Linked DNA regions of Homo sapiens: all the other regions are linked to region 1. Evidence: promoter capture Hi-C in 16 types of primary human blood cells and fetal thymus (Javierre and others, 2016). All regions are on one chromosome and are shown on one strand. The core of a region is centred on a gene start or on the middle of the fragment in contact, and the rest is flanking DNA. Distances in the headings are between cores, read along the strand shown.

The links. The method cuts DNA at HindIII sites, captures the fragments that hold promoters and counts their contacts. A CHiCAGO score of 5 or more calls a contact.
Region 2: a contact is called between a fragment that was not itself captured here and the fragment with the promoter of SLC45A4 in region 1, in 1 of 17 cell types (neutrophils). The highest score is 5.9, in neutrophils.
Region 3: a fragment that was not itself captured here is called in contact with the fragment with the promoter of SLC45A4 in region 1 in 1 of 17 cell types (neutrophils); the score reaches 5.2 in neutrophils.
Region 4: a contact is called between a fragment that was not itself captured here and the fragment with the promoter of SLC45A4 in region 1, in 2 of 17 cell types (total B cells and naive B cells). The highest score is 5.7, in total B cells.

What each region holds. Positions count from the first base shown.
Region 1 is chr8:141,303,603-141,309,718 of GRCh38, reverse strand. SLC45A4 (solute carrier family 45 member 4) reads left to right here and starts at 1,431. Exons shown (of 9, transcript NM_001286646.2): 1 at 1,431-1,623. RefSeq lists silencers at 1,196-1,435, 1,456-1,555. The HindIII fragment of the contact is 5,295 bases long and covers 1-4,609 here.
Region 2 is chr8:140,577,916-140,583,443 of GRCh38, reverse strand. The region is part of intron 2 of AGO2 (argonaute RISC catalytic component 2); the gene reads left to right. Among named protein-coding and RNA genes, the nearest start is that of ERICD, 54 kb to the left of the region's middle. RefSeq lists an enhancer at 3,706-3,805. The HindIII fragment of the contact is 2,117 bases long and covers 494-2,610 here.
Region 3 is chr8:140,460,013-140,465,542 of GRCh38, reverse strand. LOC105375782 (a long non-coding RNA gene) reads right to left here and starts at 672. Exons shown (of 2, transcript XR_928707.3): 1 at 493-672. RefSeq lists an enhancer at 245-1,444. The HindIII fragment of the contact is 6,324 bases long and covers 1-5,201 here.
Region 4 is chr8:140,780,336-140,785,719 of GRCh38, reverse strand. The region is part of intron 14 of PTK2 (protein tyrosine kinase 2); the gene reads left to right. Among named protein-coding and RNA genes, the nearest start is that of MIR151A, 50 kb to the right of the region's middle. The HindIII fragment of the contact is 235 bases long and covers 2,787-3,021 here.

The sequences.
Region 1 (6,116 bases), core at 182-2,681:
GTTGTTGTGTGTAGTTGATTATTCACTGTCATTGCTGTCATTCCACTGTGTGAATATATCACAATTTATGTATCCATTTAACGGCTGATGAGCATTTCAGTAGTTTCCAGTTTGGGGCAATTATAAACACTGCTGCTATCAACAGAAACACAATGTTAGGTGTGTATCTAGGAGCAGAATTGCTGGGTAATCAAGGCCTTTCAAAAAGATTTTGAAAGTTGTACCACTTTGCATGTCCACCAACAGTGTCTGGCAGTTCCAGTTGCTCCATTTCCTTGTCAACACTTGATATGGTCAGATTTTCCCATTTCCGATGCTCTTGGAGGCTCTGCTCTGCACTTCACTTCTAAATTCCTTTAGCAACAGGTGAGATGGATCTTACGATTTCTATTTTACAGATGAGGACGCCAAGGTTCTGAGAAATGAAGTAATTCCTCCAAAGCAACTTAAACCCTGGCAAGGGTGCAGGGCTGCGACGTTAACAGGGTTGGCCTCAGCCCATCACATCTGTCTGTTAAAGCCGCCTCCCCAGACCTTGTCTTGATGGGGTTTCCCAGCAGTCCTGCCCTAGGGATTGTGGCCCTTCTACACGTGGGGAGAGACGGATCAGTGTCCCTGGCCAGGGCCAAGCCTGAGAGGGAGGCCCAGCCTCCAGGAAGCTCCGGGTCGGGTCTTCGTCCTGCCCCGCTCTCCAGGTTGGAGAGGGGACCCGCAGAGCGCGGGGCGTTGGGGGAGTTGGGGACGGGGGCGTGGTCCGGGACCAGGTAGGAGGTCTTCGGAGGGTGGCAGGGAGGGGAAAACAGGAGAGTTTTCTCCTGCAGCGGAGGAGGGGCTGCAGCACCTGGATGGGGCCCATGTCGCCGCGCCACGGGCAGGGGCGGAGGGGGCGGGAGGGTGCTTGCCAAGGGGCTGGGCTGCCGGGGGCCGGGGCCTCGTGGCTAGCCGGACCCCTCTGCGACAGAGTGGCGAGAGGAGCGGGGAGAGAAGGTGGGGACAGGCGGGGGCCACCTCCTGCGGCTGCAGAGAGGGATGGGGTGGATTGCGGGCCAGCGCTTTAGGGGAGAGAGGGCGGACGCTCGGTGCGGAGGGGCCGGGGCCGGGGCCGGGGCCGGGGGCGTAGCGGGAGGAGGGCGGGGGCGGGGCTGGATTATGGCTGGGGGCGGGGCCATGGCGAGACGGGGGCGGGAGCCACGGTGCGCGCGGGGGCGGGGCAGGGGCGCGGCGGGGGCGGGGCGGCCGTTCGGGGGCGGGGTGGGCGGCAGCGGAGGCCAATGAGCGCGCGCGGCGCAGACCCCGCCCCCCGAATCCCCGTCCCGCGGCGGCGGGTGCTGCATAGTCATGAGGCGCAGGGGCCGGCGCTGCGTCAGCGGAAGCGGCGCGGAGCGGCTGTTTCCGACCCGATAAAGCGGCGTTGTCTCCGCGCGCCGGCCGCAGCCTCGCAGCGCTCTCTCCGCGCCCGCGTCGCTGACTGACCGCCCGGCCGGCCGGCCGAGGGAGCAGCCCCCGCCCGGACCCGCAGCCGCCTCCCGACCCCGGTGCGCCCGGGGCTCCGCGCCCCCGTAGCCCCTGCCCGGCCCGGCCCGGCCGCCCCGCCGCCCCCGCGGCCCCGGCCGGAGGAGACAGGTGAGTGGCCTGCCGCCCGCAGCCGCCTGCCCCGCCGCCCCCTGCACCTCGCACCTGGGCGCCGGGCACCTGCAGCCTCCCCACCCCCACCTCCCGCACAGCCTCGGCCTCCAGGTCGGGTCCGCGCCGCAGCCCCAGCCCCGCACCTTCTCCGGGGGAGGGGACGTGCCCCCACCCGGCTTGCGCTGGCTCCTCAGGGCCCCCCAATTCCTTCCCGCCTCCTCTTTCCGGATTGCACCTGCCCTGGTCCCCAGCCCTGCAGCCTCCCTCATTCCCCCCACCCCGGCCCCCACCCCGGGGCGCGCGCCTTCATTTGGACCCGGCCCGCTTTCGCACCCATCAGTCCTCCCCGCCCCCAGTTCCTCGGTTTCTCTACCCAGAGAGGAGCCTGGCGCCTCTAACTCCTGGTCCTGACCCTGTCTTGTCCTTCTAACCCCTGCCTGCTATCTCTAACTTATGAGAATTCAACCAGCGATACACCACTCGCGAAGTGGCCCCCTCTCCCCTCTGTCTGGACCGGTCCTCCCAACCGAACACACTCCCTTCTTCCCCTTCTTCCCCTTCCCTTCTTCCCCTCCTTTCCCTCTGCCCAGTGCACACACGACCCTGGCAGCACTGCTAGCCAGTGTCCCCCGCCTCGGACCCCCAGCCTGCACCGCCAGACTGTGGCTCTGCCCCGGTCTCATCGGCACTGCGCTCCCTTGTGTCCCTTTGAAGATACCTTGATTTCCTGAGACCGACCTTGTCCCTGGAGGAAAGAGGCCAGGGCATCAGTTCATCCGGGCCCAGATTCCCTGCTCTGTAGAAGTCCCCGCACCTTCTGCGTCTCAGCACCCGCTGCCCCTTTCCCCTTTGCGCTTAACCCGTTCCTCCCCCAGGTATCCTGCTCTGGATTGGAGCACTTCCAGCAGCGGCTTTTCCAGCGGAGGCGGATCCACACGGGGCCCAGCCTCCTGGTTAGCTATTCAGAATGATTCTAGAAGGCGGGGGCTAGGGAGGGCTGGGAAGGGCCGCTTGACCTCCTAAGGAGCCTGAGGTGTTTGTGTCTCTCCAGTGCGGGTCACTGATGGAGTGTGGCTTCAGGTTCACAGACCTAGCCACTGACCCCCATCTGATACCTCAGCTGACTCCAGCAAAACAGGGCTTGTCGTTTTTATTACTGTTTTGGGGGCTGTCTTTTCCAGTCTATGACCCGGAGCGAGGAGGGTTTACCAGATGAGTGATTGAACTAATTGTTGTGGGGTCAGATGATTCTTGTGGGCTGGTAGATTCTGAATCGAAGCCCATTTCTGCTGGGGAAAAGCCACTGCATCTGCCCAGCATTACTGAGAGCGCCCTGCGCTTCCATTCCCCAGACGGTCTCATCCTTCCTGTGTCATTGGCAGACAGGTAGAATGTGGTAGGAATCTTATCCTTCTGTTATTTTGTGCTGGCTTTAGGAAAAAATAAGAAAACAAAAAGCTGGAGTATTGGTGTACAGGTTAGGGAGTGTAACACATGGGGATCAGAGCAGGTAACACACACTGTCCTTAAAAGAAATGTATAGTGTCCTCACTTTTCTGCTAGGTTTGAATTATTGTTAAAAGAACGAGCAGAGATTATTTAAATGCTTGGGAGAGGTTTTGCAGAAGCCACTTGATGAGAAGAGGCAGCCCTGCAGGTTCCGGGTGGAGGAGACTCAGGCGCAGTAAAGAACTCATGTGTTTCTAGAGAGAGGCTGGGGAACTAGGTCGTCTTACACATCAAGGATTTCACACCCGTTCAGGCTAATTGTTTTTGTGGCAGTGGCTGTAAAGGAAAGAAGCAAATCGTTTGAAATGTGTTTGAAATACACACTGGGTATTTAAAGGTGTGTTTTTTTGGCCCAGGTGTTCACAGGGCGGGGAGTGGGGAGGCTGCCCAGGGCCACCTCCCGGGCCTCGTGGGGGGAGTGGCCTGCTGCCCTGCCGAGATGCGTGCTGCAGCTTTGGCCCTTGTCGCATCGTGAAAGCAGATCAGAGATTGGACTGGGTGAGCTCCAAGGTGTGTGTCTTGCAGCTTGTAACACCCTCTAACTTTGCTTATTGGAGGGGGGTGGGGGAGGGGCGGAGCAAGCCTGTAAACCGGATTCTGCCTCCTTTCCGTGAGCTCTGAGATCCCGCCCCAGCCCGCCCCGCAGATCTGCAGGGAAGGAGAGGGCTGCGGCAGCGGCAGCTCCCCACTTTCCCGATGGAGGAAAGGAGCCGAGGAAGGTATTTCAGCCAATCTTGAGGTTGCTTGGTGGTGAATGGATTGTATCTGTGTTGTCAGGAGAGAGGTGGGGAGGACAGAGGAGTGCAGCGCAGGGGTTCGGGCTGTGATTGTCGTTCTGACCGTGGTGCATCCCAGTGCCCTCTCCCGCTCTTCCCGAGGGTCCTGACGCCCAGTGGCTGGCTGGGGTGGTTTGTGACCAACAGCCTTGTGGCCTGGCACCGAGTGAGGGTGACTGACAAGCACTGTAGGTGGCAGACAACCCCAAATTGCCAGTGCCCTTCTTGGGAACACCCCTGGCAGAGTCGTGTCTGTAATTTGTGGAGGCAGAATATGCTGGAAGCCGCGTTCCTGCTAATGATGGGTGAGGACTGTTCCTCGCTGGCCTCCTAGGTTCCCCAGGTTTTCATCACTGCGTGATTATGCTGACGAAGGCGCACTTAGTGAAACACCATCAGAAGGGTTGTCTCCACCTGAGCCAGGAAACAGATTTGACCAGAGGGAGCAAACCTCCCAGCCGAAGAGCAGCCTTGTAGAAAGGAAGGGGTGAGAGGACCCCAAAAGCAGGCGTCTGCAGTGGGTTTTCATGCAGAGGACCTGAGCGGCTGCACCTCCCCCACCGGCTCCTAGACAAGGTCCCCTTGTTTAGATTAGCTTAATTACCCCACCAAAATCAATGAACAAGGATCTTTTTAAATGTGAAACTTTCAAAATGTGCTTCTAGTGGCCTTTTCCCCCGAGTATCAAATGCTAAGCTTTTGTGAAATCAGGCACTTTCAGAGGACCGGGAGACCTCTTTAATGTTCGTGGAAATGAATCTTCTCTACCCTGAATCAGGAGAGGGCCTGCCGAAAGGGAAGCTTAACAGGTCATATTGTCATTTTCAACCCCTTGCCATTTGGGTGGAGGTGACAGGAGAAACAGCATAGTGTTTACGAAGTGGCCTCCTTGGCAAGTGACTTTTGGAGGAGGCATTTTAAGAAGATTAAAAACATCCACAGACTTAGAGGGCAGCCGCATAACCCACTTAGTGTTTCATATCCCTGATAGAGTGGCCCTTTGAGAGCCGTGGATGGGTTGCTGTTGTTCCCACCTCAGACGACGTGGGTGTTATTGCCCCAGGAAGACGGGACACTTGGTAGGGGTCATTTGTTGAGTGCGACTGGTTAGATTGCGGGAAATAGCACAAAACCCTGATGATGGAGAGAAGGGCTCTGAGTTCTCTTTGGCTCAGCTGCTGTGTAGCTTGGGGACTTCAGGTGAGAGGGAGAGGAAGTTCTCTCTCTCCCCCCCTTTTTTTTTTTTTTTTTGAGACAGTCTTACTCTGTCACCCAGGCTGGAGTGCAGTGGTGCGATCTTGGTTCACTGCAGCATCCACCTCCCAGGTTCAAGCGATTCTTTTGCCTCCGCCTCCCGAATAGCTAGGACTACAGGTGCACATCACCATGCCCAGATAATTTTTGTATTTTTAGTAGAAATGGGGTTTCACCATGTTGGCCAGGCTGGTCTTGAACTCCTGACCTCAAGTGATCTGCCTGCCTGGGCCTCCCGAAGTGCTGGCATTATAGTCTCTCTCCTTTGCGTGTGTGTGTGTGTGTATTTAAGAGTCAGGGGGTCTCACTGTGTTGCCCAAGCAGGTCTTGAACCCCTAGGCTCAAGTGATCCTCCTGCCCCAGCTTCCCAAGTAGCTGCTGGGTTATAGGTTCATACTACCGCAGCTGGTGGGATTTCTCTTAAGTTAGAGGGGCTGGGCTGTAGCTGCATTATTTTGAGGGTCATCCCAAGGCCCACCTTCCTGTCTAGTGAGGGCTCCAGAACACAAGTTCACTCTCAGAGTCTGTCGGGAGCCGCGGGGGGGAATAGTGCTGGGCATTTTGTCCCCAGTGCAGGAATAAGGGTGCCAGCCAGTCCAGAGTGGGATCCTGAGGCAGCTGAAGGGATTTGCGTAACCTTTCAAGTCATTGAGCTTGGCCATCTCACCCTCCCACCTCTACTGGGCCCAGGCCCCAGTGAGGGAGGTATTGTTCAGACCTGGGTCTCGGTACTTTCATCCTCCTAAACCTGTTGAAGGATTTTGCTGGCAGTGAGAGGAAACTGCATTCCTGAACTCTGGCCCAGAGGTGCTTAATTTGCTGCATTGAAAAGTCCCTTCCAACCTGGGGTTCTGTTATGCTACTTGCTCTGAGTTTTTGTAGTTTGCCCCAAGGTTTCTCTTGGGGTTCTGCCTTGAAATCCTGGAGCCATCTGAATTGACTGGCAACCAA
Region 2 (5,528 bases), core at 303-2,802, 730 kb after region 1:
GCAATGAAATTGCCTGAGTGAATTTCTCAGGCCATATCCCCATGGTTAAGCCACGCATGACTGTACATATATCTATAGATATGAGAGGGGATTTATTAGGGGAATTGGCTCACATGATTGTAGAGGCTAAGATGTCCCACAGCAGGCCATTTACAAGCTGGAGACCCTGGAGTGTCAGTAGCGGGGCTCAGGCCAAGTCTGAAAGCCTTATAATCAGGGAAGCCAAAGACCTGGAACCCACAGGGCTGCTGCTATAAGTCCTAGAGCCCAAAGGCCAAGGGAGCCTGAAGTTCTGATGTCCGAGGCAGGAGGAAGACAGTGCCCCAGCCCCAGGAGGGAGAGAAGAAATCACTCTTTCTCTCCTTTTTTTCTGTCTGTGTCCCCAGCTGATTGGATGGCACTACCCACACTGGGGGCAGATCCCCACCTGGTCCCTGACTAACACGCAGTCTCCTCTGGAAGCAGCCACACAGACATGCCCAGAAGTCAAGCTTTACCAGTTCTCTGGATTATTCTTTAATCTAGACACATTGGCACCTAAAAATCAGCATCATACAAGTCTATACTGGGAATATTTTCTCCTAGTCCAAAGTTTGTCATCTCACCTTCCTGTTGGTGTCTTTCTTTTAATGAGTAGAACTTTTTAGTTTTGTTGAAGTCCAATTTATAAATTTTTAAAAATAGCTGTTACATAGTGTATTCTCTCTAGGAAATTTTTGCCTACCTAGGGATCATAAAGATATTCTCCTGTTTTTATTTTAGAATTATAGTTTTTGCTTGCATATTTAGTCCACGATCCATCTTGAATTAATTTTTATGTATGTTGTGAGGTAAGGGTCTGTTGAAAATACTTTTCTTTCCCCACTGATTTACCTGTTGACCTTTAAAAAAAATAATTTGATTGTACAGGTTGAGTATCCCTTACTGAAAATGCTTAGGACTAGAAGTGTTTCAAGTTTTCATTTATTTATTTATTTATTTGAATTTTGGAATATTTCCGTTACGCTTACCAGTTGAGCATTGCAGATCTGAAAACCTGACACCCAAAATGCTCCAATGAGCATTTCCTTTGAGCGTCATGTTGGTGCTCATAAAGTTTCAGATTTTGGAGCATTTTGGATTTGGGGTTTTCAGATTAGGGGTGCTCAACCTGTATATGTGGGTGGATCTATTTCTGGATTCTCTTCTGTGTTGTCTTTAGGCCAGGAACTCTTGGTCATTTTAACTATAGTTAAGTGGTAAGGCTTGAAATCCGATTAAATAATTCCTCCAAATTTGTTGTTCTTTACAATTGTTTTAGCTATTCTAGATCTATTGCTTTTCCAAGTATATAGAATAATAAATATAAATAACTTATCAATTTCTGCTAGAAAGCCCCTTTGAATTTTTTATTGTGGTCACTATGAATCTAAAGTATGCTATGTTCTTGGATGCTATTATAAATGGTTGTGTAAATTTTTCTTTTCCTGGAATGGTGGGGAGTGACTGCTGTTGAGTATAGTGTTGATTTTGGGGGTGGTAAAAATGTTCTAAGCCATGGTGATGGTTGCAGAACTCTGAATATGCTAAGAGAGAGAATGTCTGGGGACTTAGTTCTCATATCTGTAAAACTAAACAGTTGGATTCACTCAACATGTCCAGAGTATGTTGAGAGTTCTATGAGGTTCTTTAAATATGCACTTACTAAAACCATGTATTTCTGAACAAAAACTATGTGCACCACTGGGTTAAGCAGCTTTCTTTACTAAAGGTCTTCCTAGATCTTTTAGTATATCTCACTGCTGTGTGGCTCTCCATCAGTGGGACTGCTGGTTTGTTTTTGCGTTTCCCTGGGATAGAACCCTGTGTGAATCTGTGATTTAGGGGGTACTCCTAGAACCAGAATGAGAGCATAAAGCAGTATACACATTTCCTTTTTTTTTTTAGAGACAGGATCTTGCTCTGTTGCCCAGGTTGGAGTGCAGTGGCATGATCTGGGCTCACTGCAACCTTCACCTCCTGGGTTCAAGCGATTCTCGTGCCTCAGCTACCCGTCCGGAGTAGCTGGGATTGCAGGCATGCGCCACCACACCCGGCTAATTTTGCATTTTTAGTAGAGACTGGGTTTCACCATGTTGCTCAGGCTGGTCTCAAACTCCTGGCGTCTTGTGATCTGCCTGCCTTGGCCTCTCAAAGTGCTAGAATTACAGGCGTGAGCCTGTTTAGTAGAGACAGGGTTTCACCATGTTGCCCAGGCTGGTCTCAAACTCCTGGCCTCAAGCAGTCTGCTCACCTTGGCCTCCCAAAGTGCTGGGATTACAGGTGTGAGCCACTGTGCCTGGCCCACATTTTCTGGGCTGTTGACTGGTGCGGTAGCAGGGGGGCCCTTAGGCCATCGACCACAGTACACAAGCAGCTTTCTTTTACGAAACTAGGCATGGCCAAGGCTTCGTTATCTGACACCAGAAAGAAGCTGAGGGTGATGAGAACGTGATGTCTTTCCAGGACTGTGCTACTACACTCCTGTGGTTTCGCCTGCCAGGCTCAGGTCACGCAGTTGGTAAGCAGCAAATGCAGGGCAAGAGCTGCATGCACAGGGCCAAGGCCAACCTGCTAGGCTATGAGCAAGCTTGAGAGTGGCTGCCTAGACGGAGGAACCTTTAGGCCCTATCTCAAAATTATAATCAATCAAAACAGCATAGGAAAATGTCAGAAGTAAAATGTTTGTGCTCACAAGACCTGTGTGGGAGCCCTGGCCTACCTCCTGCCTCCTCCCATGACCCACCTTCCTGAGACCCCCCGCTCACACATCAGTTGCAGTGCCCTGGGGGTGCAGTGGTGGCTGAGGCAGACATGGCTCCTGTCCCCAGTGGGGAGGTGGATGGTGCTCATGGTCAGCGCCGCTGGAGGGGAGCTCCGAGTGGAAAGGGAGACGAAGGTGGGGCCCTGAGCCCATCATGAGTCTGGGCTCCTCCGTCGTGCTGCTCAGCATCTCCTTCCCATTTCTCTTACCACACTGCAGCCTCTGTGAGAGCAAGGATGGCGTCTTAGTCGTGAGTTCCCAAAACCTTGTACAATGCCCCGGGTAGATGTTTAATGAGTCCAACACAGAGGCTTTATCCAAGGCCATGAGAAAAATGCCCTTGCACCTCAGTTACCTCTGTGACATTCTGACAACTACACAGTGAAGCAGCCTCAGTGCCCTCAGGCCCTGCAGTATAGTCCACCCCTTTCCCGGGGCTGCCGGGGTGGGGTTTGGTGCAAGCAAGACCCTTCCTCCCAGGAGCGTCCCGTACAGCTGTGGGCACCAAGGTGGCTGCACAACACAGCCAGTCTTGAGCCAGCCCCGAGAAAGAATGGGGGCAAGGCCCACACGACCTAAGCCTTGCTGAAGTCACGTGGGCCTTGCCCCCATGCTCTGTTCCGAGAAGCACGGGTGGGCTGCGAGGAGGAGGTGGGCTCCTCTCCCTTCCCCTGCCCCTCTTCCTCCTTGTTCGTCTTGAGCTCCGTCAAGTGGCCCCAGAAGAACCAGCAGATGCGATGGCCCTGTGCCTGTGGAGCAGGGGGCCAGGCAGCATGGCTGTGTCACACTCAGCCTTGCGCCTAGAGCTCTGTGACTCTGGGCATGAGCCACTCACGGGAATGCAGGTGGACCCTGCCTGTTTACAAGACAGTCTGGTGCGGGTATTGCAGGTATTAAAGCAGAAACATCGTGTACCCTCTGACCCACCCGTTCTCCTTCTCAGTCTCTATATCTCAAGGAGATGTATAGGATGACTACTCTGAAAAAAAAAAAAGAACAACAAAAGACACCATCTAAGTATCAGTAGGAAGTGGTGGGTTAGAGGAGTGCGCTGGGGCATGCAGTGTGGTGCTTAGCAGGAGTGGAATGGGGCTCCCAGGCTGACCTCCAAGCTCAGAAACACAGGCAACTAAGTAGCAAGTGGTTAGGTGGTAACACTAAGGCACATGATTACCGTGTCTGTAGTTCTAGACCTAGTGGCGACATTGTATACAGTTAGGAGGAAAGATCCCAAAGACACAGAGTAGGAAAATGGGCGCCTCAGAAGTGTGGGTTTGATACCATGTGTATAAAAATAATAAAACAATGTATTTCTGGATAGCTGTGTGTTTATGTGAAAGCATAGGTTTGAAAAGGATAAGGTTACTTCTTAGAATGGGGATTGAAATGAGTGGGTACTGTAAACAGACTTTTAGCTTTTTGTTTTTTTTTTTCTTTTTGAAACAGTGTCTCCCTCTGTTACCCAGGCTGGAGTGCAGTGACGCAGTGATGGCTCACTGCAACCTCAACCTCCCGAGGTCAAGCAATCCTTCCACCTCAGCCTCCCAAGTAGCTGGGACCACAGGCGCGCACCACCACACTCCACTAATTTTTAAATACGTTGTAGAGATGGGGTCTCTCTGTGTTGCCCAGGCTGGGACTTTTAGCTTTATCGTTATGTGAAACTTTTGGTGAGAATGTATTAAGGCAAAAGCTGTGTAATTAGAAATTAATGAAAGGATGACATTTGTAAAAGAGGGAACCTCTCAGAATTATGACAAAAGGGCAAACAGGCAAACGGGGCAGACACTTGCTTCTCGGCATTAGCAACACGCTCCGGCTTCTGCAAGGCGGCCCCGGCCCCGTGCGGGGTGCTGCTTGGCGCTGCCCTTTCCCTGGGTGGCGACTGAAGAGGGAGCTGTCCCCACTAAGAACTTGGCAGAACGAGCACTAACAGCTTGGCCGTGGTTCTCCTTTTCCTTCGTTTCAACATGGGTCACTCTCTTAGAGGCTGGGGCCCCACTGGTGGACGGAATGCATGCAAATGAACTCCTGGGCTGTCATCTTTTTTGGGAGGTCAAGGGCAAGCCTGAGACCTGGGTGGCCAGCAGAGCTGGCTCTGCAGAAGCAGGGACGCTTGCTCACTTTCCAGTGCCTGCGCCGGCTCGAAACGAAGGACCAGATTCAGGGACTCCGCGAGCAGGGTCCCCAGGTGGCTCCGTGGGCTGGCTGGGAAGTTAGTGCCTCACAGGTACAGTTTCACTTTGGGGAAGTGAAAATCATTTGTGGACAGAGGGTGGTGATGGTCGCACAACAGCATGGACACACTCAATGCCGCTGAACTGAACACTTAGTTGAAATGGTCAATTTTATGTTATCTGTATTTTATCACAGTTTTACAAAGAAAGAAAATTAACTGCCAAATACGTGGTCATGTGTGTTTGAGGAGGGAAGGGACCCCCCGTGTTAGAATTAGGCAGCAAGGTGCCATCCTGCTGCCACAGCCACGAGGTCCAGTTTCTCTGCTTTACACAAGATCGGCCCCTCCTCACCCTCGGCACTGGGCCCCGAGGCATGGGGGCTGCGAGCCGGTGGCCAGGGATGCTCTCTCTGGGCGGCGGAGGCCTGAGTGGTGGCCAGGATTGTCTGCCAGCCGACTCCACGGGTGTGCATTGTAGCCCCTCAGGGCACTGCCTCACTGGCATGACCGAACAGCCTCCTTCTCTTGAGAGATCCGCCCAGCCCAAGCCGCACGCCGTGCTGGGTG
Region 3 (5,530 bases), core at 790-3,289, 840 kb after region 1:
AATTTTGTGAATTTAAAAGTATACATATAAAGTACATATATAGTAATACATATAAATATAAACACCCCAAAAAGTGTTCCCGAAAGTAACAAGCTCTTTGAGAATAACTGATCTCTTTAAAAATGATTTATGTTTCATTATAAAATCAATGTATGTATGCTTAAAGAAAAAAAATGAGACAATATAGAAAAGTAAAAAGAAAACTCATCAGTCTCTGACACATGTCACAGCCCACAGCTACCTGGGAAGGCTGAAGAGTGCAATTTCAGCAGAATGTCAGGGGAGGAGCAGGATTGTACTAGGTGGAGAATATTCTAGACTGAAGGAACACCACAGAAAAGACAAGAAAGCGTGGAAGGGCGTGGCTTGAGGAAAAAGGTCGGGAAACTGGGGGTTGAAGAATGAACAGGTGAGATGGGTAAGGACTTCCAGAGAAGAATGACTACTGGGCTGGGGGGGGGTGACATCTGGGCCAGTCACAATTCTCCTCACGTGTCGCCTTCCACAATGCCAGGCACGCGCCTGGGGTTGAATACATATTTCTGGGCTGAATAACCGAATGTACAAAAGGCAGGCCCTAAATTTCCTCTCCGCCCCTTAGCGTGCCCCGCAGCGACATCGTCACAAGCGCGCGGCTTTTGGTCCCCGCCCTGGGCCTCAGGGCCTCGGGGCCGCGCGCGGGGCGTGGTCAGCCGGAGCTGTGACGCACCCGGGACGCAAGCCGAGGGCTCGGTTTCCACGGCAACAGGCGCTGGGCCCCTGTTTTTCCGCTCGCGCTCGTGCGTCACTTCCGGTCGCTCCCCTCTTTTTTTCAGCCTTGTGTAGGATAGGTTCCGATTGGGACCAACGTCGGGGTGGGAGTGGTACTGGGGAAGGGCTGTCCAAAATGAATCTTCGGTTCTGCGTGAAGAGCCGGGTGTCAGGCAGGTGGAGCTTGGCTTCCGTCCCCTAAGCCAATCGCTTTCCAATCCGTCCCCTAGGCGCTGCGGGAAATTGATGCCTCAGCTACCGGCGCTGGAGCATGCGCACTGCTACCGGAGGCGCCTCTGGGAAATCCAGTGCTCCGGGATTTCCACGCAGCCGGAGGGAATCCAGAGGGGCGAGTGATGGGCGTGGCATCAGGGGGCAGGGCGTACGAGTCACAGTGTTGATTGGCCGGTGAGAGGCCCGGGCGTGGAGCGGCAGCGGACCCCTGTGGCGGGCTCTGGCGTTTCATTCATTCGTTCATTCATTGAATGAACTGATTCACTCCATGTTTACTGAGTATACGCTGTGTCAGAGCTTGTGTAGGCGCTGGGGATTCAGAGCCGAGTCGGACACAGCCCCTGTCCTTAAGGAGCCCACGCTTCGACTGAAACCGCGGCGTCCCTGCCTTTCTTCGTTTGCACCTTATCTCCTCTCTTCTCTCAAGGCTGGTGTCCTTGCAGAAGGCGGCGACGCTCAGCCCATCTTACCTCAGGGACCCTCTCCGAGGCTTCCACACTTCTGAAAGCAGCTGTTGAACACGGAAAGGCCTGGCGTGGAATCCTGGCTAGCGCTCAATCACTGAGCCGCTTCACCCACTTTACATTCACCTCTGAAAGCATGATGCAGGCGTCCCCAACTTAGGGTGGCTCGACTTAGGGGATTTTTCAACTTTGCGATGGGCTTATCGGGAAGCAACCCATCATAAATCGAGGAGCATCTGTATAGTTATCTTGCAGAGGGCAGTGAGGTTTAAAATGAGCTTTGGTGCTTATCTTGAGGTTGAGTCCGAGTTTCTTCCTTACACGATTATTGTGAGGATATGAGATATTTATGCCAAGCACATTGCACATTGCCTGCCAGATAAGAGTTTCATAAATGAGGCCGGGCACGGTGGCTCACGCCTGTAATCCCAGCACTTTGGGAGGCCGAGACGGGCGGATCACTTGGGCTCAGGAGTTCCAGACTAGCCTGGGCAACGTAGGGAAACCCTGCCTCTACAAAAAAATTTACAAAAATTAGCCGGGCATGATGGGAGGCTGAAGTGGGACGTTGGCTTGAGCCCAGGAGGAAGAGGATCCACAGTGAGCCAAGATCGCACCACTGCGCTTCAGCCTGGGCCACAGAGCAAGACCCTGTCTCAAAAAAAAAAAAAAAAGATAAAAAAAAGTTTTGTAAATGGTAGTTACCATCGTGTTATTTTGAAGGAAGAGTTATGAAGGTCTAACCAAGTAGCTGGTTCTTAGTTGTGCTAAATAAGTATAGTTATTTTTTCCCTCCATAGCCTGTGAGCTAGAAAGCCCAGGTGAGACATGACACTATGGAGTCCTATAACACGGGAAGGAGAAGAAACTCTTTATGGTACTGGTGGGGGATCAAAACCCTTGAGAGGTGCTGGCTTTTGTGCAAAGTGGAGTGATTGGATCACCCAACCGGAACACCGTTAGCCAGGACATAAGCTGGAATTGTACCAGGAAAGTAAAGCTATATGGTCACCTTACCCTGAGGCTGTACAAGTAGCATGTGACAGAATTTGTCCATTCTGTCTCAAATTGCCTTCTCACACTTTCTTTAATCCTAATGATAGCCCTATGAAATGATTATCCTTATATAATAACTGAAAATATGGAAGGCAAGTAATTAGGGAGTGATGGAGCAGGGACTCTGTCCTAAACTTTTTTTTTTTTTTTTTGAGATAGGGTCTCACACTGTTGCCCAGGCTGGAGTCTAGCCTGCACTTTTTTTTTTTTTTTTTGAGACGGAGTCTTGCTCTTGTTGCCCAGGCTGGAGTGCAGTGGCACGATCTCTGCTCACTGTAGCCTCTGCCTCCCAGGTTCAAGTGATTCTCCTGCCTCAGCCTCCCGAGTAGCTGGGATTACAGGCGCCCACCACCACGCCCGGCTAATTTTTGTATTATTATTATTATTTTTAGTAGAGACGGGGTTTTGCCATGTTGGCCAGGGTGGTGTCAAACTCCTGACCTCGTGATCCACCTGCCTCGGCCTCCCAAAGTGCTGGGATTACAGGTATGAGCCACCGTACCTGTCCCAGCCTGTACTTTTAACTCACAGCTGTGATAATTGTCAACCTCAGCAAGCCTTGTGGGGCATTAGTCCCATATATAGATTATATATATATTATATGTGTGTGTGTGTATGTGTGTGTGTATATATATTTAGACAGAGTTTCACTCTTTGCTCTGTCTCCCAGGCTGGAGTGCAGTGGCACGATCGAGCTGACTATAGCCTTGACTTTCTGAGCTCAAGCAATCCTCTCACCTCAGCATCCCAAGTAGCTGGGACTACAGGTGTGCACAATCGTGCCGGCTATTTTTTAAATTTTGTGTGGAGATGGGGTCTAGCTATGTTGCTTGGGCTCATCTCTAGCTCCTGGGATCAAACAATCCTCCCTCCTTGGCCTCTCAAAATGCTGGGATTACAGACATGAGATACCGAGGCCAGCTTGGTCCTATTTCTTGAGACCCCTTGACTGGATGTTTCAGGGAAGCATATTCTGGCTGAGTTTACTGGATAATTTTCTTGTAGAGCTTGTTATGAACTGAATGTTCATGTTCTTCCCAAATTCATATGTTTAAATTTATTCCCCAATATGATCATATATGGATGTGGGGCCTTTGGGAGGTAATTAGGTCATAAGGGCAGAACCCCCATGAATGGGATTAGTGCGCTTCTAAGAAGAGACCAGGCTGGACACGGTGGCTCATGCCTGTAATCCCAGCACTTTGGGAGGCTGAGGCAGGTGGATCACCTGAGGTCAGGAGTTCGAGACCAGCCTGGCCAACATGGTGAAACTGTGCCTCTACTTAAAATACAAAATTAGGCCGGGTGCGGTGGCTCATGCCTGTAATCCCAGCACTTCGGGAGGCTGAGGCAGGCGAATCACCTGAGGTCGGGAGTTTGAGAGCAGCCTGACCAACATGGAGAAACCCTGTCTCTACTAAAAAATACAAAAAATTAGCTGGGTGTGGAGGTGCATGCCTGTAATCCCAAGTACTCAGGAGGCTGAGGCAGGAGAATCGCTTGAACCCAGGAGGTGGAGGTTGTGGTGAGCTGAGATTGCGCCACTGCACTCCAGCCTGGGCAACAAGAGTGAGACTCTATCTTAAAAAAAAAAAAAAAAAAGAGACCAGACAGCTAGTTTGCTCTCTATCTGTCATGTGAAAATACAAGAAGCCAGCCATCTGCCATTCAGAAGATGACCTTCATCACACCCTACCCATGCTGGCGCCCTGATCTCAGTGTTGTTCTAGTAATTTCTTATATCTGCCCAAACCAACTAAGACAAATAGCCACATCATCAAAGCATTCTGCCTGTTAGGACTTTTGTAGAGGGGAGAGAGTGTGAGTATGAGGTTGGACCTGGTTATTTTAGAAATTCCTTCCAACCTTAGATGTCTGTAAATTCCTTGAGGGCAGGTTTTGTATGTTTGAATTGTCACCCTTCAGAGGAGATGCTTAGGAAATGTTAAAGATGCTAAAGGAGCACAGCCCCAGGACCTAGACAGTACGGGGACTGCTTTGGATGTTCTCATTTGATCATTGTGGGCTGGGCTGTGGCAGGCTCTTACACTCTCTGAGCCTCCGTTTTCTCATTGGTAAAAATGCAGAGTAATAATACCAGCACTTTGGGAGGCCGAGGTGGGAGGATCATGAGGTCAGGAGTTCGAGACCAGCCTGACCAACACGGTGAAACCCCGTCTCTACTAAAAATACAAAAATTAGCCGAGTGTGGTGGCGCGCACCTGTAATCTCAGCTACTCAGGAGGCTGAGGCAGGAGAATCGCGTGAACCCGGGAGGTGGAGGTTGCAGTGAGCTGAGATCGTGCCACTATACTCCAGCCTGGGTGACAGAGTGAGACTCTGTCTCAAAAAAGTAAATAAATAAATTTAAAAAAAAGCAGAATAATAGTCCCCGCTCTCCTTCCCCCACAGATTTGCTGAGACAGCAACATAAATTGATTGAAGTGTGTACATTGCAAATAAGCAATGTTTCCTTTTGCCAGCTTTCAATCTTGCTTTCCAAGTTGCTTGCCTTATCCACTTACAGACAGAATAAGAAAAGACCTATGCAAAAAGTAGAGTCTGTGGGGTCTGACAGCCCTGGATTTGAATCCCTAAATAGCACCAGCCATTTGTGTGACCCCAGCCAAGTAGGGTATCCTTTCTGGACTTCAGCACTAAAAATAGCTCCCTTGCTTGGATCTTATGAGGTAAGCTTGGAGCCTAGTTTCTGCACTCAGACCTCCATTAGCAGTGGCCTTTTAAATGTATCTTTTCTGTATTCTCTGTTAAGCCCATACGCTCTTTTGTTTATTTATTCATTTAAAAAAAATAAAAAAAACCACTTTTTTTTTGAGACAGGGTCTTGCTGTCTCTCCCAGGCTAGAGTGATCATGGTTTACTGCAGCCTCGACCTGGCTGGACTCAAGCGATCCTCTTGCCTCAGTCTCCTGAGTAGCTGTGGCTACAGGTTTGTGCCATCCTGCCCAGCTAATTTTGGTATTTTTTCCAAGAGACAGAGTTTCCCTGTGTTGCCCAGGCTGGTC
Region 4 (5,384 bases), core at 1,655-4,154, 530 kb after region 1:
TTATTACCCTCTAGGCTCTATTGCCTGTCATGAGCAATTTGAGAGAGTTTGCTCCCCTGTACTGATGAACTGTTACACTCCCAAGTGTCAATGAAGATGGAGAGTCTTCATGGGATTTGTCTGGCTCTCCCATTTTTCTTCACAACCAAAGAGTTCTTACCTGACCCAAGTCTGGGTTCATATGTCAGTACCTCATAGAAAGCTTTCCTGAGTACTTTAAGAAGATCTGGACTCTTCCTCCTCAGAGCTCTATAGTGCACTGTACATTTCTCTCTTATGCATAGTCCTAAAATAAATGTCATTGTGTTTTAGAAACCATCTTGTCCACAAAACCATGAACCCATTGCATGTAAAGACATGTTCTGTTTATCTCTTTATTGTCTGGGATATAAGTTTTGTAATTGTTTTTAAATAAATCCATGAATTCCTGAGTAAGGTATGGAGGTGTGCTGGGTCTTAGAGGAATGCATTCTGGGTAGCGGGAACCGACAGCAGAAAGGCAGGAATATTTGGACCGACCAGTGTCACTGGGGCTCTCAAGGGATTACCTGTAAGCTTGTCACTGTAAATTGTTCTTGATTTTTTCCTAGGAATCATTATAAATGGTTCTAGATTCCTTCCTAGGAGATGTTGGGCAGGGGTAGAGAGGATAACCAACAGAAAAAGCGAGGATCTAGATAACTTTAGGACAGTTTGTCGCTCTTTGTGGGTCTCTCTTGTTGGCAAATAAAGCAATATCCTTACATTCCGGAGAGAAGATACCAGGTACTTTTTCATATTTTGTTGCAAAATAAAGGTAGTTATTGGATCACCTTCAGTAAGATTGCAGTGACAGTTGATGTTGAATATATGAACAGTGTATCTTTGAAATTCACACAGTATTTCTCTACAAAAATAAGTGTAAGATTAACAGAGATTTATAAAAATATCTAACAGAACAACATGTGTCCCTGCCTGTATTGTTCTGAGAACCTGTAGAAGTCTTTTTTTTAAGCCTAATTATTAAGTTATAAGGAAACTTGTGCTTGTTGTGGAGCTCGGGTACAACTTGGAACATATCTGAAAGTCAGGTGCTGCAGTCTATCATAAGGGACCTGTAAGTATGCTGAAAGAGGAGGTGTGGCCTCTGTGGGGAGGGAGTGCTTAACCAATGGTTGTGTGGGTTAAAATTACCCTAGAAATCAGGTATTTCCAAATCAATGAGTAAAGCTGTATTTTAAATATTTTGAAGGTATAAACTTGGGGGTTTTGTTTGGTGGATTATTGTGTTTGGGTTTTTTTTTCTTTTTCTTTTCTAAAATAACGAAGCCCTTGATCAAGCAGTAAAACCTTAATTATGACCAGAAGTACAAGATAACACATGATAGTAATACCATTGCATTATGCACATGGCTCTTGTTACATGTTTGGACTACACATGTGGCACTAGAGATAATACAAGTTTTCTCATTTGTATCTCTGTCATGTACACCAATGCAGTGATCTTTTTCAAATGCTTGGTTTGATTGTCTCTAAGCCCTTCATGCTAAAGGGCAATTATACTACTTTGTGATAGTTTTTTTCCCCCCACTTTGTCACCCAGGCTGGAATGCAGTGGTGTGATCTTGGCTCACTGCAACCTCCGCCTCCCAGGTTCAAGCCTCCTGCCTCTGCCTCTGCCTCCCGAGTAGGTGGGACTACAGTTGTGCACCACCACGCCTAGCTAGTTTTTGTATTTTTAGTAGAGATGGGGTTTCACAACGTTGGCCAGGCTGATCTCGAAGTCTTGACCTCAGGTGATCCACCCACCTCGGCCTTCCAAAGTGCTGGAATTAAAATTAGTCGTGAGCCACCACGCCTGGCCCTTTGTGATACTTTTTCAGTATTTGTTGCAATTTAAATAAATTTTTAATTTTCTAACATTATTTTGGTTCAGTTGTTTATCATGCAACATAATTTCCTTTATTCAAGATTACTTTTAGGTTTTTCAGGTTAGTGACTGGAAATTATTCTGAACTATTAAAACATTTAATGAAATAAATGTTATTTGTATTTTGTATTAAGCTGCTTCATTACAAATTCTAAAACAGCTCACTTGTATATGCAAAGGTGGTTTGTAAACTGTAAAGTTCTATAAAATATAAGGTGGTATAGTCTATAATAATTACTGCATTTTATCTCTTTCTGTGTGGTCTCTGATACACTAGATTTGTTACCTATTCATGACTATGCCACTTATAAATACAGGTAGTTATTTACATATGCATGTGTCTTAGAGATCATGCCTGGCCCATCCACAGGCATCATTTTGTTTAAACCTCATGAGAGTCTTCGTAATATTTTCACTTTACACATAAAGAAATAAAGACACTCGGAGCTGAAGTGGTTTGGCCAAGTTCACATAGCTAGTAAGTAATAGCCTGATGGAAATCTTGATCTTGGACTAGAAGGTTTGTTCTCTTTACATTAGACCATATTGACTCATTTCTTTCTTTTTTCTGGAGACATGGTCTCCCTCTGTCACCCAGGCTGGATTGCAGTGGCTTGATCTCAGCTCACTGCAGCTCAACCTCCTGGGCTCAAGTGATCCTCCTGCCTTAGCTTCCCAAGTAGCTGGGACTACAGGTGTGCGCCACCATGCCCAGCAAATTTTTGTATTTTTTTTGTAGAGACGGGGTCTCCCTATGTTGCCCAGGCTGGTCTCAAACTCCTGGGCTCAAGCGACCTGCCTGCCTCTGCCTCCGAAAGTGCTGGGATTACAGGTGTGAGCCACTGCACCTAGCCTATGTTGACTCATTTCTAAAGCTTGATAATATAAATGTGTGGAAGGAAATAATACTTTGAAAGAGTTTGCGTGTGATTCCATTAAGGTTTTTTCCCCTCATTTATTAGGAATAGGATAGTGCTGACTCAGTTCCAACTCTCAGAAGTGTGCCCTGTATTCAAGTTTGAAAAAGGTTCTTCTGTCTAGTTTTACACTCTAGTTTCAATTTTGATAATGCTGTGGGTTTCCAAGGTAGTCTCTATCTGTTGCTGAAAGCTTGATTTAAATGCTAGCTTTTAGGAATTAAAAGGGGAAAGAAAAGAAAAAAAAAAACCTTGCCCTAATTTGAGAGCATTGTCACCTATTATATAAGTAGTTCATTTTTTTCCCTACCAAATCTACGGGACACTGAAAAAATTAAAAAGTAAAACTAAATTTAGGCCAGGCACAGTGCCTCACGCCTGTAGTCCTAGCACTTTGGAAGGCCAAGGCAGGCAGATTACTTGAGCCCAAGAGTTTGAGACCAGCCTGGGCAACATGGTGAAACCCTGTCTCTACAAAAACTGTAGCCAGGCGTGGAGGCGTGTGCCCATAGTCCCAGCTACTCAGAAGGCTGAGGTAGGAGGATCTCTTGACCCTGGGATTTGGAGGTTGCAGTGAGCTGAGATCACCCCACTGTACTCCATTCTGGGTGACAAAGAGAGGACCCTGTCCCCCCCCCCAAAAAAAAAAACAACCAAATTTTAAAAGATAAATTCATTTTTGTAAATTATATGCTTTGTGACATAATTTAATCAAATTAATGCTACTAATAATTTTTATGTGCACAAAGTAGTAGGTATTGAATGTTATTGATCTGTTCCTAGTACCTGGCTCACTGGAAATTATTCTGGTAGTCAGTCTGGTATTAGGAGAGACTCCAAACCACTGAGAAGCGTACAGTTGTCACTGACTTCATATGGATAGACTGGCTGATCGTGTTGTGCATGAATAAGGAAGTGAACAATCAAAATAGCCCAGCTGTGCTGCCTTCTTTCCGATAGCCCTCCCTCTCCCACCATTACATCATTCGAACTCCCTTTGCCACTGTTGAGATCGGGGTGTTCTTCGTAGTCATACCGTTTCTTCTCTGGGTTCTAAAGCAGTTGAAAAGAATACTTGGAGGTCATATAGGTTTTGAAATATCAGCATCGTATGTTGTAAAGAAGTATCCTGAAAAAGGACCCGGAACCACTCCTTCACCCTTGAGCTGAACTCGTCTCAGCTGCAGGCAGTGCAGACAGTGCAGACAGAAACTCACAGACCTCCCTGGCAAGGGGTAGCCTGAGGCACTTTCAAATTTTTAAAAAGGCCAAATGAAAAGCTGAGCAATAATGAGTACAACAAAAATTTAAAGTGGATTTTTGTTTTTATAAACTCTTCCCAGCCCACAGAAATCCAGCTCAGTCTTATAAATTTTGTTTCCAGAAGAGAGTATTCCCATCTTCTCCCAAGCAGCCCCCACGCTATAAAGGGGAAAAGACTATATGAGAGTATTAGAAACAAAAATGTATTTTTGTCTTTATAAAATAAATGCTTCACAGTTGGCAGTATTGGGTATACTTGGCTTATGAACCATCTTGATCCTCTGGCGAAACTTATTAACAATAATTAATAAACTTCTCAATCTTTTTAAAAAAATATATTATTAAAACACAAAAAGCCCAAGTATCATCATCTTACCAAATATAAAATAAATATTGCTAACATCAAAAGGCCCAGTTATTTTTTTCTTTGCAGAAAATAATTTTAAAGGGAATGCTTGAAAGTTTAAAATATAAATTCTAGAGTTTGACCTCAAGTCTTCCCCCACCCCGTTTGTAGCTTATAGCTATACAATAATTGTGGATTAAAATCAAACTGCATGAGTCAAGACAAAATATTTTTGATGCCTTTACAAAGAGGAGACCATGGAAATGAATAAATATTAAGTACCTACTATGCTTTTGAATTTTGAGTTTTTAAAACTTTTTATGGAAAATTTCAAGCATATACAGAAAAGAGAGAATAGAATTGTATCATGATTTTTCGTATCATCATCACCCAGATTCAGCAACTAAAAACTTCTGGCCAATTTTATTTCACCTCTGCCTCTGTCCACTTACATACACACATAATCCCTATTGGTTATTCTAAAGCAAATCGAAGGCATATTTCACCTGTAACTATTCCTAAAAGATGAGACTTTTTTTACAAAACATTATCAGCTATCCAGTCAGTGTTCAAATATCCCTGATTGTCCCATTTTCATATGTGGTTTCGTCTAAACAAGAATCAGACAAGAAGTACTTTGTGAATTTGCTTGAGTATCTCCTGTATGTGTCAGCTAGACCTTGTTGGTTGATTGTTACTAGTTGCAATTACTCTGTTGAAGAAATTGTGTCCCTTGTCCTATTCTCATATTCTGGATTAGGCTGATTACATCTCTGTGATGCTGTCTTGTTTAACCTATTCTTTTCTGGCCCGTTTATTTCCCATCAGCTGCTTGTTAGAACCTAAAGAAGTTTGATCCAGTTTGGGCTTGATTCCCCCCCTCCCCACAACAAGAATACTTCTTAGGTGATGTACATCTGGTTGTTCTTTGTGATGTTAAGACTAATCA